Regions from separate parts of the Homo sapiens genome. Here region 2 is linked to region 1. The links are contacts of gene promoters, found by promoter capture Hi-C in blood cells and fetal thymus (Javierre and others, 2016). All regions are on one chromosome and are shown on one strand. The core of a region is centred on a gene start or on the middle of the fragment in contact, and the rest is flanking DNA. Distances in the headings are between cores, read along the strand shown. Region 1 holds the start of ARID4A (AT-rich interaction domain 4A). Region 2 holds the start of TRMT5 (tRNA methyltransferase 5).

Region 1 (7,956 bases), core at 3,474-5,973:
AATGTTTGAGATGATAGATATGCAAATTATCTTGATTTAATCACCATACATTATATGTATCAAAACATGACTATGTAGCCCATGAATATGTAAAATTATTATTCATCAACTTAAATAAAATTTTTTAAGGAGGACTTCATTAACTATATGATATACCTCTATAATGTTAAAAATGTTTATAATAAGCATAGGAGGTATCTAAGTATAAAGTAACGAAGACTATTAAAAATATATTCATATAAGAAAATTACTGGCAGGAACCACCAAAAAAAAAAGTTATTTCAGAGTAAAAGCATCTTAAAAAAAAATTTTTTTTTTGAGACAGGGTCTTGCCCTGTCATCCGGCCTGGAGTGCAGTGGCACAATCACAGCTCACTGCAGCCTTGACCTCCCAGGCTCAAGCAATTCTCCCACCTCTGCCTCCAGAGTAGCTGGGACCACAGGTGCCTGCCACCACACCTGGCTAATACTTTTTATCTTTTTTTCTGGACAGACAAGATCTCACTATGTTGCCCAGGCTGGTCTTGAATTCCTTGGCTCAAGCAATCCCCCCATTCAGGCTTCCCAAGTGCTGGGACTGCAGGTGTGAGCCACTTCACACAGCCAAAAATATACATATATATTTTTAGTCTCCCTCTGTCACCCAGGCTGGAGTGCAGTGGTGTGATTTCGGCTCACTGCAATCTCCACCTCCTGGGTTCAAGCGATTCTCCTGCCTCAGCCTCCCGAGTAGCTGGGACTACAGGTGTGCACCACCATGCCAGGTTAATTTTTTTATTTTTTGGAGATGGAGTCTAGCTCTGTTACCCAGGCTGGAGTGCAACGGCATGATCTTGGCTCACTGCAACCTCCGCCTCCCGGGTTCAAGCAATTCTCCTGCCTCAGCCTCCTGAGCAGCTGGGATTACAGGTGCCTGCCACCACACCCAGCTAATTTTTGTATTTTTAGTAGAGACAGGATTTCACCATGTTGGTCAGGCTGGTCTCGAACTCCTGACCTCAGGTGATCCACCCACCTCAGCCTCCCAAAGTGCTGGGATTACAGGCGTGAGTCACCGCGCCGGGTCTAATTTTTGCAATTTTAGTAGAGACAGGGTTTCGCCACGTTGGCCAGGCTGCTCTTGAACTCCTGGCCTCAAGTGATCTGCCCACTTCGGCCTCCCAAAGTGCTTGGATTACAGGCATGAGACACTACGCCCAGTCACAAAATAAACTTTTTAAATGCTTTTTTACACTGTCTTGAAAACATAATTCCTGTTGTATTTGTATTGTCCTAAACACTAAAATTGTCTCTACCTGAACATTAAATGAGGGGAGAAAATAGATTACAGTCCAAGTATGCTACCACAAATAGTTAAGAGCCAAATGACAGGAAATATCATGAGCATGGTATTTTGATGGTAGCATTTTGGAATAATTTCTCCTTTTGAGTTTTTTATTTCTTTATTTTTGATGTGCTTTTCCTTTAAGTTTGGTATATAAAGGGTTTTCATATAATGACTCAATAAAATGCTGATTTGCAGTCTCTCTCTCCCCAAATTTCTTCAATCTAGAGTTAATAAAACTATTGCATAAAAACAAATATTACCTTAACTTTCACCAGCCTTTTCACAGTCTTAATCTTTGCCTCACAGAAGGCACCTCGGTACTTGGCACTGACATCGGTTCCCACTGTCAGGTAGGCAGGCTCATCTGCCGCCTGGTGAAAGGAACATAAAACTGTGAATGTCATTACTATGCCTCCCTACTCCAACCTCAAGTCTCATTAAAAGGTTGTGTTTGAAGCATTAAGAATATTAAAATGACTTGCTTATTAATATCATTGAAAATTTGAAAAATACCCTAAATACTTGATTAGCAACCTTTCATTTTATAGACTGATGTCCTGATATGATAAAATGTTTTAAAGTTGTAATTCAAAATTATCAGTGATTAATAATGTTTTGTCTCGATACAAAATTTTTCAAAAATTCTACTATTATATAAGCAGAAAGATAAGAAAAAAACAGAAAAAATATTTCATATTACACATATCATAAAACTAAGTTATTCATTTATAGCTTCCTGAAATTTTTCAAATTAAAAGAAATATTGCTACTAATATTAACACTAACAATACATAATTGTTTATTGACATAGCCACATAAAGGTAACATCTTTTCATAAGGAAAGTATCATTTGGAAAATTCATTTGCTAAAAGCTGCACTTGAAAGGTTTTAAGTCTGAATTCAGCCGATGAATGCAGATATGAACTGATGGCTCCAGACTTGTAGGTATACCTAGTTTACCACACTAATCTTCTTAGTATAAAAAAATAAGCGTTACTAAGAAACATCTACTTTCAGCAAATGGACACGACCAGAATGATACATAGAAAGATGTAAGAAATGTCACTCTACCACTCATTTTAATTTTTACAGTAACAGGATGATTGCTATCTCAATCTGTCATTTTACCTTTTTTTTTTTTTTCCGGAAGTTAAAGTGTATCCATACAAGTTCAACTTAACATTGTTAAGTGCAAAGTTAACAGTGTACACTTTGGAGATACGTTTTGAAGTAGAAAATGATTTTTTGTTTTCTAATAAGTTTTCCCAAGTAATATTAAAGAAGGTTAAATATGTCATTTACTTCGAGAAAATAGAAAACCACGAGAAAGTTTGGGAAAATGCTATATTTCAGAGCTTAATATGCTGAAACAGTAAATAAGACAGGAATTGGGTACCTTTTAAAGTAAGTGCATTTACAAAAAATACAAATTGAATAGGAATGCTTTTGGCAAACAAAAATCTGACCTGAAACATTCAATGGCCACAGCATTCAAGAACGCTATATGAGATCCTTTCCCTTTAACCATCCACATACTGATATTTGCAGTCATCCTCAGTAGAATATGTATCTTTTTAGTATATGTTTTAAAATACTTATTGGAAAGATTTAACTAAAACTATTATTATACTTCAACTTCAAATATTTTAGCCACATAAGTTCATTTTACACACAGAAGAAATGATACCTTCATTACTTAATCCACGTATTCTTTCTTTTAGAAAATCGCATTGGCACACGGGAAGAAAAAAAATTTACAAAAAATCCCCCAAAGAACCAAAGCAGGACAAAAGCTTTACTTCTGCAAAGGTTGCTGCCAACACAGGAAGTGTTTAAAAATACTATCCGAATGGACAACAATTGAAAGGCTGCACCAGCCTTTCCAAAGTACTGCTACAGAGAGGGCCTAAACTCCGCATTTAGACACACAGATCATTTTTCACCCATTCAACACATCCTCCTATGCCGAAACTGCTGATCAGTAGGAACATCAATTTTGAGTAGCAAAACAAATGACATTCCACGGCACTAGCCTTAGGATTGGCAGTGTTCAGGGCGCGAGGATCGGGGCAGAGTTGACTCCACTTACCTTCATTTTTGTTGGTGATCTGTGGGGTTCCAGCTCAGCGAGCTATCTTCGCAGTCGCTAGAACTATGGGGAGGGGGAAAGACAGGCACAGACATAATCAGTCAACTGCGGGGAGCGACCAAGGGAAAGAAAGTAAACAAACGCCAGCGGGGAGGGGCAGAATCCTCACCAGCCAAGGGACAAGACCCCTTACGAGGGCAGCCAGGACGCAGGAGCTGAGGGGGCAGCGAGAACCCCACGAGCGCCAAAGGGCAGCCCGTTCCGCCCCGGAGCTCGCCAGCGGCCCACCGCGCCCCCGCCTCGCTGGCCACTTTGACCCGGAATGCTCAACTCGGAGCTCCAGGACAGATAGCTCCGGAAAAGGCCAGAGCTCCCTTCGGGCTTCCCCAGGTCCCCCGCGGAGACGACCGCCGAGCCTCCGCTCCGCGGTCCCCCGGATACCCCGACTTCGGCCCGCGCCCCGCCTCCGCCGCTCGGCCCCCTCGGCCCGCCCCGGGCCCGCGGTGGCGGCAGCGGAGTGTCACGGCGCCATTGCTCTCCTTCCTTCGCTCTGCACCATGTCAGAAAGGAGAAGCGCTCCTTCACCCAAAGGGGCAGGGGCCGCGGCCTTCAGCCGGGAGCCGCCAGAGCCCCGGGGGACCCGCGTGGGGGAGGGGGCGGGGGGCGGAGGGGAGGAGGAGGGGAGGTGGCCCGGACAGGGTGTGGGAGGGGAGGGGAGCCGCACCGCAGCAGCCGCTGCCTCCTCCCAGCGCCCGCCTCAACTTTTTGTACAGCCCAGAGAGGTATCAGCTCGTAGCCCCTCGAGTCCTGCCACGGACTCCGCAGAGGTGGACGCGCCGCGGAGTTGGGGGACGGCTCCCCCAAGCAGCCCGCTCTTCACCGCGCGGAAGCAAACTTAGCGGCGCGGCCAGCCCCACAGCCATTTTCCCGGGAACCCGAGGAAGCGGACGAGGAGGCGGCTGCAACTGCGGCGGCGGTTCCTGCAGTTGCTGCCGCTGGTCAATGGCTGGCCCCTTCCCTTGCGCTCGCCGTGCCACTTGCCTAGCATCCCTCTCCCCACCTCCAAAGCTTCCAACTGCACCGGGACCTCGGGCAGCAGCAGCTGCTGCTACTGCCACTTCGTCCATTCAGTATCCCCGGATTCCCCTCTCCCCACCTACCAACTGCGGGTGAAGTGCGCGCTGTCAGCTCCAGAGTCCTCCTCCCCTCTGACCTCCGTGGGCCCCCGTCCGGGCAGCACCACTCCCAGCCGCGGCTGCAGTTCCTGCGCCGGGTTCCCCACTCGCCCCGATTTACTGCCACAATCCACCAAATAACAAGCTGTTGAGCAGACTCGCTTCTACACGAACTCCTATTGGCTGCTCATGACGCCGAAGAGCTTCGGATAGGACCTCGCTACCTGCCGTCCTCATTGGATGTAGCTGTGAAACTTCATGGATTGGTGAGAAAAACAGCAGGTAGGACATCTTCCACTTATGATTGGCTTTTTCCGAAAACCAACTTTATTGGAGAGTTGGTTATTGAGTAAGCAAGTCCTGAGAAATGATTGGTAGAGACGACTCCGGATGTGCTTGACTGGGCACTGATTGGTGAATTGAGGGGTCAGGAAGAGCAGTTCGACACGAGGATTGGCGGCGGAGTGTCCCATGGAAACGGAACCCAGAATTGCAGCCAGGGGCTTGCACGGGGGCGGGGCAGGGTCTGTCCAAGGCGCTTGCGCTAAACCAGCTTGTCGGCGCCATTTTGTCTCGGCAGCGGTGGCCGTAGCTCCATCGCATTTTATGTTTCTGGCGAGAAGGGAACGGAGTTTTCATCAGGTAGATTGGTTTTTGTGCGGCCGTCCTCCACCGTTTCCTCCAGGACAGCACCTAGTCGTGGCCGGAGGAGTCTCAGAGCTGTCAGAAAGGTCAGTTGGAGGCTATGGTTGTCCGATTGACTGGGGGGATGGCGCAGCCCTAGCGGCACCGGCACCGGAAGTGAAGGGGCCGCAGGCAGCCATGGTAAACTTCTCCCTGCGGCGGGGTGGGGAGAAGGGGCGGGATGAATGGGGGCGAGGCTTCCTCTCCCGCCGAGATAAAGAGGTGGAGGAGAGGCAAACGTCTTTCTTGGAGGTTCTCTTTCGGGTTTTCGAGAATGTGAGAGATTTTCTGGGTTCTGTCCCACTGCAATCTTTCCTGTCTTTGGAAGTGCATTTCGGGGACTTGCCATGTTCTCCACCTGATTGGCACCAGCTGTGGGAGCCTTCTTAGTTAAGACAGGGAAGAAGTGGTTCTTAGAAACATCCTGCATGGGTAGAGGTTTCCGCGTGCTCCTCACGGGATAAAGCTATGAGGAAACTGGAGAAAGCGCTGGCTTTCTGGATGCTGAGGAATTTACTTGCCAGCGCAGACGCTTCTTCTGTGACCTTAGACAAGGGTCTGTCACTCTGCACGAGGCTTATGCTACTTTTTGAAAGCAAACAGTGGTTTTGCAGGGACTGAAAACATCTTAGACAAAAGGACGTCCCCGATAAGATAGACGTTGATCTTTTTCTGTTAACATCTTATATTCTGTTAAACGAAACACACATTTTTAAATAGCGGAATTGGAGTATAAAATTGACTAGTTTTATAGAATGGAGTAATTTTTAAAATGTGACATATCGTCAGTAATCCACGTGGACTAAATTTTCTCAGTAAGAAAACAGCCGAGCAGAATCAGTTTTTTATTCGTAACAGTAATTTTGCTCAAAAGTATTCATAAAAACGTGAAATGCATGTTGGCATTTCTAGTGAGTGACCTAGTCACACTGGATAGATCCTAATAGTTACCCTCAATACCTCTGTTTTAAACCCTACTGCTATATTGGTGGCGCCCATAACTAGAAAATGATTGTGTGACTTAACAATTACTGGGTTTTTTGGCAGTTGTGCTGAAGAAAACAGAACATCTCAGTGATTACTGAGGTGAGTCATAAAGTCTAAAAATCCTTAGAATTGCGGGGGACTACCTGGAAAAACTTTCTATGGATTAGTAAAGAAATACCAGAATGGGAGGAAGGGTAGTTAAAAGATGTTTTGTTTGGTCAGATTCAAATGAGTCTGTATAATTAGCTTTCTAGTGTAATATTTTAGAATGAAATCCCAAAATTAGGACATCCTTATGGACTTGTTTACCCATTTACGTGGTTCTCATTTCTGGACTTTGATATACCTCATGTTTTTGTTATAAAACATTATGCGTATTTTTGTGATTTCCTCCCCCCCACCCGCCTATTTAAAAAGTTCTTATATAGAAAAGATCTTGTAAATGGGAGTGTTTAGGAGTGAGGCTTTTTTTTTTTTTTTTTTTTTTTTTTTGGAGACAGAGTCTCTCTCTGTCATCGAGGCTGGAGTGCAGTGGCGCAATCTCGTAGGAGTGAAGCAGTTTTTTAAAAGACCTTATAAAACAATATATTACTGAATTTTCTAGGGGGTAAGCATCCATAATTCTACGATCAAAGTTTAAACTGTTATTATTGAATCCAAATAATGCATGGACATTTGGAAATTATTAAAAAGCCCAAAGAAGAATACAAAAATGTCTTCCCTCCTCCAAAAGGTAGTTACGGTTTACACTATAGTTATATATTATACAAAAGGCTTTGTCTTTTTTGTTGGTTTTGTTTTACCAAATATTCTAGTGTTGTTCATTACCGTCTATTCTTTATAGAAAACATTGGGAATATTGGAAATATCTTATCGTAAAGCATCTTTTATGTCTTCATAGTGTTTTGTGGGATAAATATATCATAATTTATGTAACGTGTTTATTTTTCTATAATGGCAGTAATATGTCAGTGAATATCCTTGTACATGTTTTGCAAAATATTGTGTCTAAGAAGGTCGTTGCAAAAGTAATCGTGGTTTTTGCATTATTGGAATTTGCCATTTGATGTTGGACTACGTTGTTAAATAAATGTGGTTATGTTATACATCATTTTAATGGGCATTTCTCGCTTTGTTCTTTTGGTAATGACTTATTACTCTCTGTTTATTTCATGTTTATTTTATTTTATTTTTGAGACAGAGTCACGCTCTGTCGCCAGGCTGAAGTCAGTGGCACCATCTCGGCTCACTACAACCTCTGCCTCCCAGGTTCAAGCAATTCTTCTGCCTCAGCCTCCCGAGTAGCTGGGACTACAGGCGCGTGCCACCACACCAGCTAATTTTTTGTATTTTTAATAGAGCCAAGGGGCTTCACCATGTTAGCCATGGTGGTCTCGATCTCCTGACCTCATGATCTGCCTGCCTCGGCCTCGTAAAGTGGTGGGATTACGGGCATGAGCCACGTGCCCAGCCTTCATGTGTATTTTAGACAATGAAAATGATGTTAGACAAAAAAGCAAATTCGAGCAGTTTTCGTTTTTGAGTTAAAAATGGGTTGTAAAACAACAGAGACACCATATCAGCAATGCATATGGTTCAGGAACTGTTAACTTACAGTGCAGTGGTGATTCAAGAAGTTTTTTTGTTGTTGTTGTTTGAGATGGAATCTTGCTCTTTCAGGCTAGAGTGCAGT
Region 2 (7,956 bases), core at 1,365-3,864, 2.7 Mb before region 1:
TTGGGTTACTTAAAAGTTGCTTTGCTTATCAAAAAATTTGGAATAAAAGCAGGAAATAAACATAAAAGAGACTCCCTAGGCATTTTAAATTTCCTAGTAAATAGATCTGCTTCTACTGACAAAGCCAATTTGTTAATTCATTCTATTAGCCATGTGGTGCTAGATGCTAAGAATAAGGTCCAGTTATAAAGGATTTTTCTATTTTTTAAATTTTTTAGACAGGATCTCACTCTGTCACCCAGGCTAGAGTGCAGTAGCCCAATCATGGCTCACTGCAGCCTCAACCTCTCAGGCTCAAGCAGTCCTCCCAAGTAGCTAGGACTACAGGCGCACTCCACCATACCAGGCTAATTTTTGTATTTTGGGCAGAGATGGGGTTTCACCATCTTGCCCAGGTTGGTCTCAAACTCGTGGGTTCCAGTGATCCGCCTGCCTTGACCTCCAGTTGTAAAGGATTTCAGTTTAGTGGGAACATTAATTTCCAAACATATCATTGTAACAATTATAATAACAGAATGAATATACAAAGTACTATGAAAGCACAGAATATCCAGGATTGTCTTCTATTTTGGGCAAACTGGCCTACAAGCTAAGTCCTGAAACATAAAAAAGAACAGGCACAAAACACATGTCTGGCCTCTGAAAGTGAAATAAGACTACTTAACAATACAAAGAGACAGCGAGGAATGAAAAGATTATGTGTTGTATTTGCACTCACAAAATTGCTATTTGGAAGTTAATCTGCATGGCTTTGATTCACTTTGGCCAAGGAGATACAATGAATATGCCACTCTTAAGTGTCATATTTCATTATAAATGAAATGTGGATCAAGTTCCCATTTTTAAAAACTAGTCACACTTCTGTGTATTTAAGAAGCTATGTAGTAGCCCTCCAAGGTACACACTAGCAACAAGAATAACAAGAAAAATGCTAAAACCCCAGAAATAACTAACTAGAAATTGTATAATAGCAGCTTCTGGAATCTATCTCTCTACTTCTCCGTATATTATCAAAATGGAAAAAAAAATTTGATGCTAAAATATGAAGACTCACCTAAATCCAAAGACACCGGTATTAGCCAAAACATAAGCTAAGCCAAGGATGCCACTTCCCATGATGGCATTCATCAAATTAAACACTGATAAACCAAATGAAACACCTGGGGATCGCTGTCTGTGAAGTTCCTGTAAGCACACAAATTTAGTAGTGTTAAATGTTTGGACGGTGAAGTTAAAATTTCGTAAAGAAATTCCATAAATGAAAGATTATGGAAAAAAGCTGCAAACCACCAGGGTTTGTATGACACACTCGTTGCTTAACCAACACTAATTTCCTTTCCTTTCCTTCCCACCTCCCACTACTGCAGCTCCAGGAATCTAGGGTTTCTTAGGAAAATGATTTCCACCAGTACACAAGACAGGCAGAGTTCAGGAAGGGCCATGACTAACCTTGTGACTGCAAGAGATGAAGATAGGATGGGAATGGAGTGGGGAGAGAGAGGAGGGATAAGGCCTCAGCTCATGTGATTACTAAAGAATTGCTGAGTCAACCTGGGACTGCTGTGGGCAGTTGTTTCTCCTCAATTACTAGGACTGCACAACTAATCTCTACTTATATATCTAATGAATTAGTTCTACCAAACTGGAAGGATGGTCAGGAATATCTTGCAATGACAATATTATAAACAGAAGCAATTCACGTTGTTCTGGCAGTATCCCTGAAAACATCCCCCTCCCCACAAACAGCACCGGGAACAAAGTCCTGGGAACAGTGTCTAGGACTCGAGTTAAAAAGCGGAGTGCCCACTGCACAGGCTTTAGGGTCAGGAACGTGCTATGCACTTACTACCAAGCCACTTCCATTCTACCGCTAAGAATTTCTGTATTAAAATGTTTATTATTTTCCCTCCCCCCATGACTAAGTCGGAAGAGGAAAATCCTGTGACTCTTGCAAAGACCTCACGAGACTGGTGGAGAAAATAAGGTGACAAAAATACTAACTAACAGCAGTGAGTACATAATCCTAGGGCCGCTCATCCCATCATGTTCGCAGCTTCCACTCAACGCTGCATCTCTTCCACCCGACGCTTTTCATCTTTTCTTTCTAGAGTATGCTAGGCTGCTATCACGTTCATAACTGCGCCAATCTCATCTGAATCTCGGCGGCTGCCTTCAGACCCCATCCCCCAGGGTTCAGGCTCCAGCATCTCCCCTGTCCCGGTGCGGTCCTCCTTTTCTGGGTCTTATTTGGCAGGCACTTGAGGGAAGCCGGAGGGCGTCAGCGCGGGGAAGCGAACACAGCCCACTTACGTTGCTTAGCAACGGACTCAACTCTTCGGCCTCCGCTTCTTCAGGCTGCTGGACAGAGACATACCAGCCCCGCTCAGCGTTGAAGCTCCCCCAGGACGCCTCCATGCTGCTCTCCAGCTGACTACCAGTTCCATCTACGAGCCTCTACCCCTGCCCTGCGCTCCAGTCGTCGGTCGCGCCAGAGGCGGAGCTTTGAGCCCGGCCCTTCCGGCATTCCGTACTTCACCAGGGCCTGGAAGGAGAGGAGCGAGTCGACTTGATCTGATGACGCGCGCCCTCTTCGCGGCGAACAGTGATGATGTCATAGAAGACCCGCCCATCCACCCGCGACCCACATCCGATCGGTACCGGAGCGGGAGGTGAGGGGTCGGCTCGCGGATCCAGCTGCAGAGCGACGTGGGGAATTGGAATGGTGCTTTGGTGAGGTGGCGGCCGCGTTAGGGGCTAATGGTCCAGGGGAGGTACCAGCCCGCCCAGGGCTGCTCTCTGCCATGTGCTGCCTGGGCACAGAAACATCGCGAGGTCACCCACCCGCCTAGGTGCTGAGCTTAGTTTCGAGGTTCTGGATAGTAAGGAATGTTTCAAAAGCCTTTCGCCACATTTTACTGGTGGGAAAACCGAGACTTATAGTAATTTATCCAGGGTCACCCAGCTGGTCAGCTGCTAGAACCAATTTGATCTCTGACGGTGAAGTTAGACTTCGTTGCTTTACAGGATTCTGGGACAGGGCCCTTTCCCCTTACAAGTAAATTCTTTGGTATTTTAGAAGACAGTGAATAACTGATACTATGCATATAACAATCAGCAAAGCTCTCGTCCTCAAAATACAGAAGCCTCTAGTTAAAGGCAGGACATGTGGCAGTAAAGCATCGAAAACAAACAACAGAGCAATATATTAAGAACACAAGCACCGAAGTCAGTCAAAACTAGGTTTTAATCCATGTTTAGCCACTTATCAGCTGGGAGACTTTGGGTGGGTTACCTTACGTCTGAGCTTTAGTTTACTTATTTACAAAATGAGGGTGCAATACTGCACACCTCCCAAGATTCATAATGTACATAAAGCATTTAGCGCAGTATCTGACACAATAAGCACCCATGAGACTATCCTAATAAATATCACCACTAGTAATGGTCATGTATAATGACTATTTCATTTACAGATGACCATTTAACTCATACTTCAGTCTTCCAATCCCAAATGTATTATCTAGAAAATTGTGGGTGAAGAGGATCATTGAGTATGGCTAATGGATCACTAAGCCCTCTGAACTGGGAGCAGATGGGTTGAAGGTGTAAATTTAATATATACCACTATTATCTACCACTAATACGACTTCCTGAAGAAGTCATCCTAGTCTGGAAAAGATAGTATACTTCCCACACATCACTAAACGTTTTATTTGTCAGCATTTAGCCCGTTATTTGAGATAGTAGAATTTAGATTTTTATTCTCAAAAGCTGTCGTGTGTGAATTTTTTTTTTTTTTTTTTAAGGATCTTATGGAGGCCATTTGGATTCTCAGGAAGATTTCTGAAACTGGAAAGCCATAGCATAACTGAATCAAAATCGTTGATTCCAGTAGCTTGGACATCCCTGACACAGATGCTTTTGGAAGCACCTGGTATTTTCTTATTGGGTCAAAGAAAAAGATTCTCAACCATGCCAGAAACAGAAACACATGAGAGAGAGACTGAATTGTTTTCACCACCTTCTGATGTCCGAGGCATGACAAAACTTGATAGAACAGCTTTTAAAAAGACAGTCAACATTCCAGTGCTTAAAGTGAGGAAAGAAATAGTCAGTAAATTGATGCGATCCCTAAAAAGGGCAGCATTGCAGCGCCCAGGCATAAGACGTGTGATTGAAGATCCGGAAGATAAAGAAAGTAGACTAATCATGTTGGATCCCTATAAAATATTTACTCATGATTCCTTTGAGAAAGCAGAACTCAGTGTTTTAGAGCAGCTTAATGTCAGTCCACAGATCTCTAAATACAATTTGGAACTAACATATGAACACTTTAAGTCAGAAGAAATCTTGAGAGCTGTGCTTCCTGAAGGTCAAGATGTAACTTCAGGGTTTAGCAGGATTGGACATATTGCACACCTAAACCTTCGAGATCATCAGCTGCCTTTCAAACATTTAATTGGTACGTGTGTCATAGTAATATTCATGTATTTGAAGGGAATTTGCAAATTGTTAATTTTAGCTTTAAAAATTATTTTTTTTAATGCCAAGTTACAGAGGCAGAACATTTTATCATGTTAACTTTAAGCTAGATCTTGAGCTACATACCCTCTTTTGAGGGCCATTTTGAAATATCTTCTTTAGTCATAGCAAGTTCCAAATACTGGTCCAGGCTTTTGTGTACAACAATACATCAGTGTAGATTAAACTTGAATCACATGCTTTGGCAGCTACATTGAGGAGAGATCTTTTTGGTACACAAGACTTGTTAGGCCTTCAGGGCTATGTTAAATACTAGGTTTCATAAATTTGGGTACTTTATAGTCAAAAGTGCAAGATGTTTACTTATGCTTTCATTGATTCAACCAATTGAGCCTCTTCTATATGTCAAGCACCATACTGTCCTGTTACACATTTCTTTTGTTTTTATTGATGAAGGGAGTAATAATGGATAGTGGTAACATAAATACTTAAGCAGATCCTTGTAATTGTGACTGGGTACAAATGTCAAGTCTAGGCTTTCCTGTGAGTCACTGCCTACCCTAACTCAAACATTCCTCTGGCATTCCTATTTTATAAACTTTCTTTCATAGAGGCACTCATACATTAAAAGTGAAACATTTTCATACAGTAGTAATTTTAAAGCTTTTACTATAGACCTTCAGAATAGTTTTTAAAAATTTATAAATTTCATTCCTCATTTCAAACTAAATTCTGTACCTTAAAAGTTGAGTTCAGATACATGAAGCAGAAAGGGTAAGAACAATGATTAATTCGTTTATTGATACTATATTAAAAAACAAGTATCTGATTATCAGAAATGGGACAAATGCTGGTTGTATTTCAGGATATTGTATAATTGGGTACTGTGTGCTGATTTACAAATCAAGTTATGCAATGAGATAGCATATAGATTTTTATAACTTTTTTAAAGTGCTAACTAAAAAAATAGATTCATCAAATGGCCATGAGTATGCCAGTTCTGTAGCTTTTTTTGCTCTGAAGTAAATGAACATTTAATTTAGATAGGACTGTAAATAATCTATGTTTCTTTTTTTTTGGAAACATTGTTTTGCTGGCATATATTTCTAAAGTGGGGGCATTTGTTCCAAAGCCATAGTAAAACAGACATTTGGCTTGAGGCCAGTGGAACCGGCAGATGTTTTACTGTTTTCTGAGGCCATTTGTTGCCAGGGTCCTTTACATCTCTTTCCATTCTTTCCCAATTCCTTGTGATCTACCTTTTTGGTTCCTTGTTTATTGGTTCATTTGAAAAGATTTAGTAAAACATGGAAAAAACATTAGGTAGACCCAAACTCCTCAAAACGTTTTCTTTAAAAATGTACCCAACATTTTGTGTGTGCATATTAGCAACCGTCAGACATTAACTTTAGTCATCTGTTGAATTTTTTAAATTGCATGCCACATTACACACAGTAGGTGCAGTCTTTATCAACCAAAAGAAATACAACTCATTTCTGTTTCATATTAACAATGTTAGCTTTTATTTTGCAACCAATAGGCAGTATTATGGATTTTCATTTTTTCTTTTAGGCCAGGTTATGATTGACAAAAATCCAGGAATCACCTCAGCAGTAAATAAAATAAATAATATTGACAATATGTACCGAAATTTCCAAATGGAAGTGCTATCTGGAGAGCAGAACATGATGACAAAGGTATATTTTATTATCTCCAAGTAAGGTGTATATCAATATTATGTTTAGAGTCAGAATAGATGACAAAGATTTAAAATACTTGTAACATCCAGTGTTGGTGAGTATGTGAGAATGTGATCACTTATGTATGCTATTGATGGAATAACACTGATAAAGCCTTTTCAGAAGAATTGGTTAAATTCTCATATAGTGATACAATGGAATATTTCCATCATTAAAGGTTTTTTAGCTCCATATTTGTTAAAATAAGTTGTCCATCGATAGGTTGACAATGGACAATTGCCAGAAAGCAATATAAGTGACAAAAAGCAAGTTATAGAACAGTATGTATAAAATAGTTCTCGAGATATATTTAAACCTTCTAGGTTATACCCAGAAAGACTTTTAGTTGGCAGAAATTTGCAGAAACATTTCCACCTCTGTAACCTTAATAATTTGGCCGGAAGCATCTGATATGGTTGGGAGAAGGAAAAAAAATATACATACAAATTGGGAATTAAGGTCCTGGAAAGCAGAAGATGGAAGATGTATCTATCTATGAGATTTATAGAACTTATGAACTTTCTGGCCTTTGATTCTTCATGCATAAATTAATGAGTTTAAGATGATGGCTGAGGTCATACTTCATGACTGTAACTTAAGTTTTATTTTCTGTTTTTTAAGGTGTCTACTACAATAGACCCAAAAGAAACGTTAAAAAGTCTTTTGTTCAAGAATTAGCTTCACTGTATATATTTAGTTTACCCATGAAAACTCAAATTTGGGAAAGAGAATCTGGGAATGATTCATTCTATACACTGGCTCTAATTTATAGACATCAAATTTGCAAAGTTCAAGTAGCTGTCGAAAAACATAGTAAAATACCTCAAAATTGAGTGACACATCTACCATGGCTCCCTTTTACAAACACAAAACTAAATAAGGAGGGAAGCTTGTTTGCTGCATAGAAGTACTGTCTGCAACTTGGCTACCCAGCATGAAGATATGGGTGGTGTGTTGTTTCAAAATTGTAGGTCTTGCCTTGTCTATCTGGTGACATAAGAGTATAATTAAGCCAGTTAATTGGCCTGTCTGAAAAATTCCTCATGTGATATGGTAACTACTTTATGGCCATGGCCCTATAGGATTGAGATGGAGAGCCATTTGGCTTTAAAGAGATGACTTTTTCTCACGAATAAGTCTAATGCAGTATATTAACTGGCCTTAGGAATAGCATAAACACCAGGAGTCTAATTAAAATGCCTTTAAATGCACTGTTGTTTGGCTCTTACAGTAGTAAACTTAAATGTGTATGTGTTTGCCTGTGTGTATACACAACCTATCCAATATCAATGGTTAGGATTTAGGACCAAGGAAATTAACCAAAAAGCATAACACCTTTTTTCAGGTTCGAGAAAACAACTACACCTATGAATTTGATTTTTCAAAAGTCTATTGGAATCCTCGTCTGTCTACAGAACACAGCCGTATCACAGAACTTCTCAAACCTGGGGATGTCCTATTTGATGTTTTTGCTGGGGTTGGGCCCTTTGCCATTCCAGTAGCAAAGAAAAACTGCACTGTATTTGCCAATGATCTCAATCCTGAATCTCATAAATGGCTGTTGTACAACTGTAAATTAAATAAAGTGGACCAAAAGGTGAAAGTCTTCAACTTGGATGGGAAAGACTTCCTCCAAGGACCAGTCAAAGAAGAGTTAATGCAGCTGCTGGGTCTGTCAAAAGAAAGAAAACCCTCTGTGCACGTTGTCATGAACTTGCCAGCAAAAGCTATAGAG

Evidence for each region. The method cuts DNA at HindIII sites, captures the fragments that hold promoters and counts their contacts. A CHiCAGO score of 5 or more calls a contact.
Region 2: a contact is called between the fragment with the promoter of TRMT5 here and the fragment with the promoter of ARID4A in region 1, in 1 of 17 cell types (total CD8 T cells). The highest score is 5.0, in total CD8 T cells.

Annotation. Positions count from the first base shown.
Region 1 is chr14:58,295,322-58,303,277 of GRCh38, reverse strand. It overlaps ARID4A (AT-rich interaction domain 4A), which reads right to left and starts at 4,723. Exons shown (of 24, transcript NM_002892.4): 1 at 4,578-4,723; 2 at 3,418-3,480; 3 at 1,588-1,698. The coding sequence starts at 3,423. PSMA3-AS1 (PSMA3 antisense RNA 1) reads left to right here and starts at 5,141. Exons shown (of 4, transcript NR_029435.1): 1 at 5,141-5,323. RefSeq lists a silencer at 3,634-4,153 and enhancers at 4,784-4,873, 4,984-5,033, 5,054-5,473, 4,770-5,493. The HindIII fragment of the contact is 5,118 bases long and covers 4,488-7,956 here.
Region 2 is chr14:60,975,737-60,983,692 of GRCh38, reverse strand. TRMT5 (tRNA methyltransferase 5) reads left to right here and starts at 2,614. Exons shown (of 5, transcript NM_020810.3): 1 at 2,614-2,730; 2 at 3,807-4,462; 3 at 6,055-6,179; 4 at 7,567-7,956. The coding sequence starts at 2,720. SLC38A6 (solute carrier family 38 member 6) reads right to left here and starts at 2,448. Exons shown (of 16, transcript NM_153811.3): 1 at 2,311-2,448; 2 at 1,055-1,185. The coding sequence starts at 2,415. RefSeq lists an enhancer at 2,345-2,724 and a silencer at 5,628-5,922. The HindIII fragment of the contact is 5,504 bases long and covers 1-5,147 here.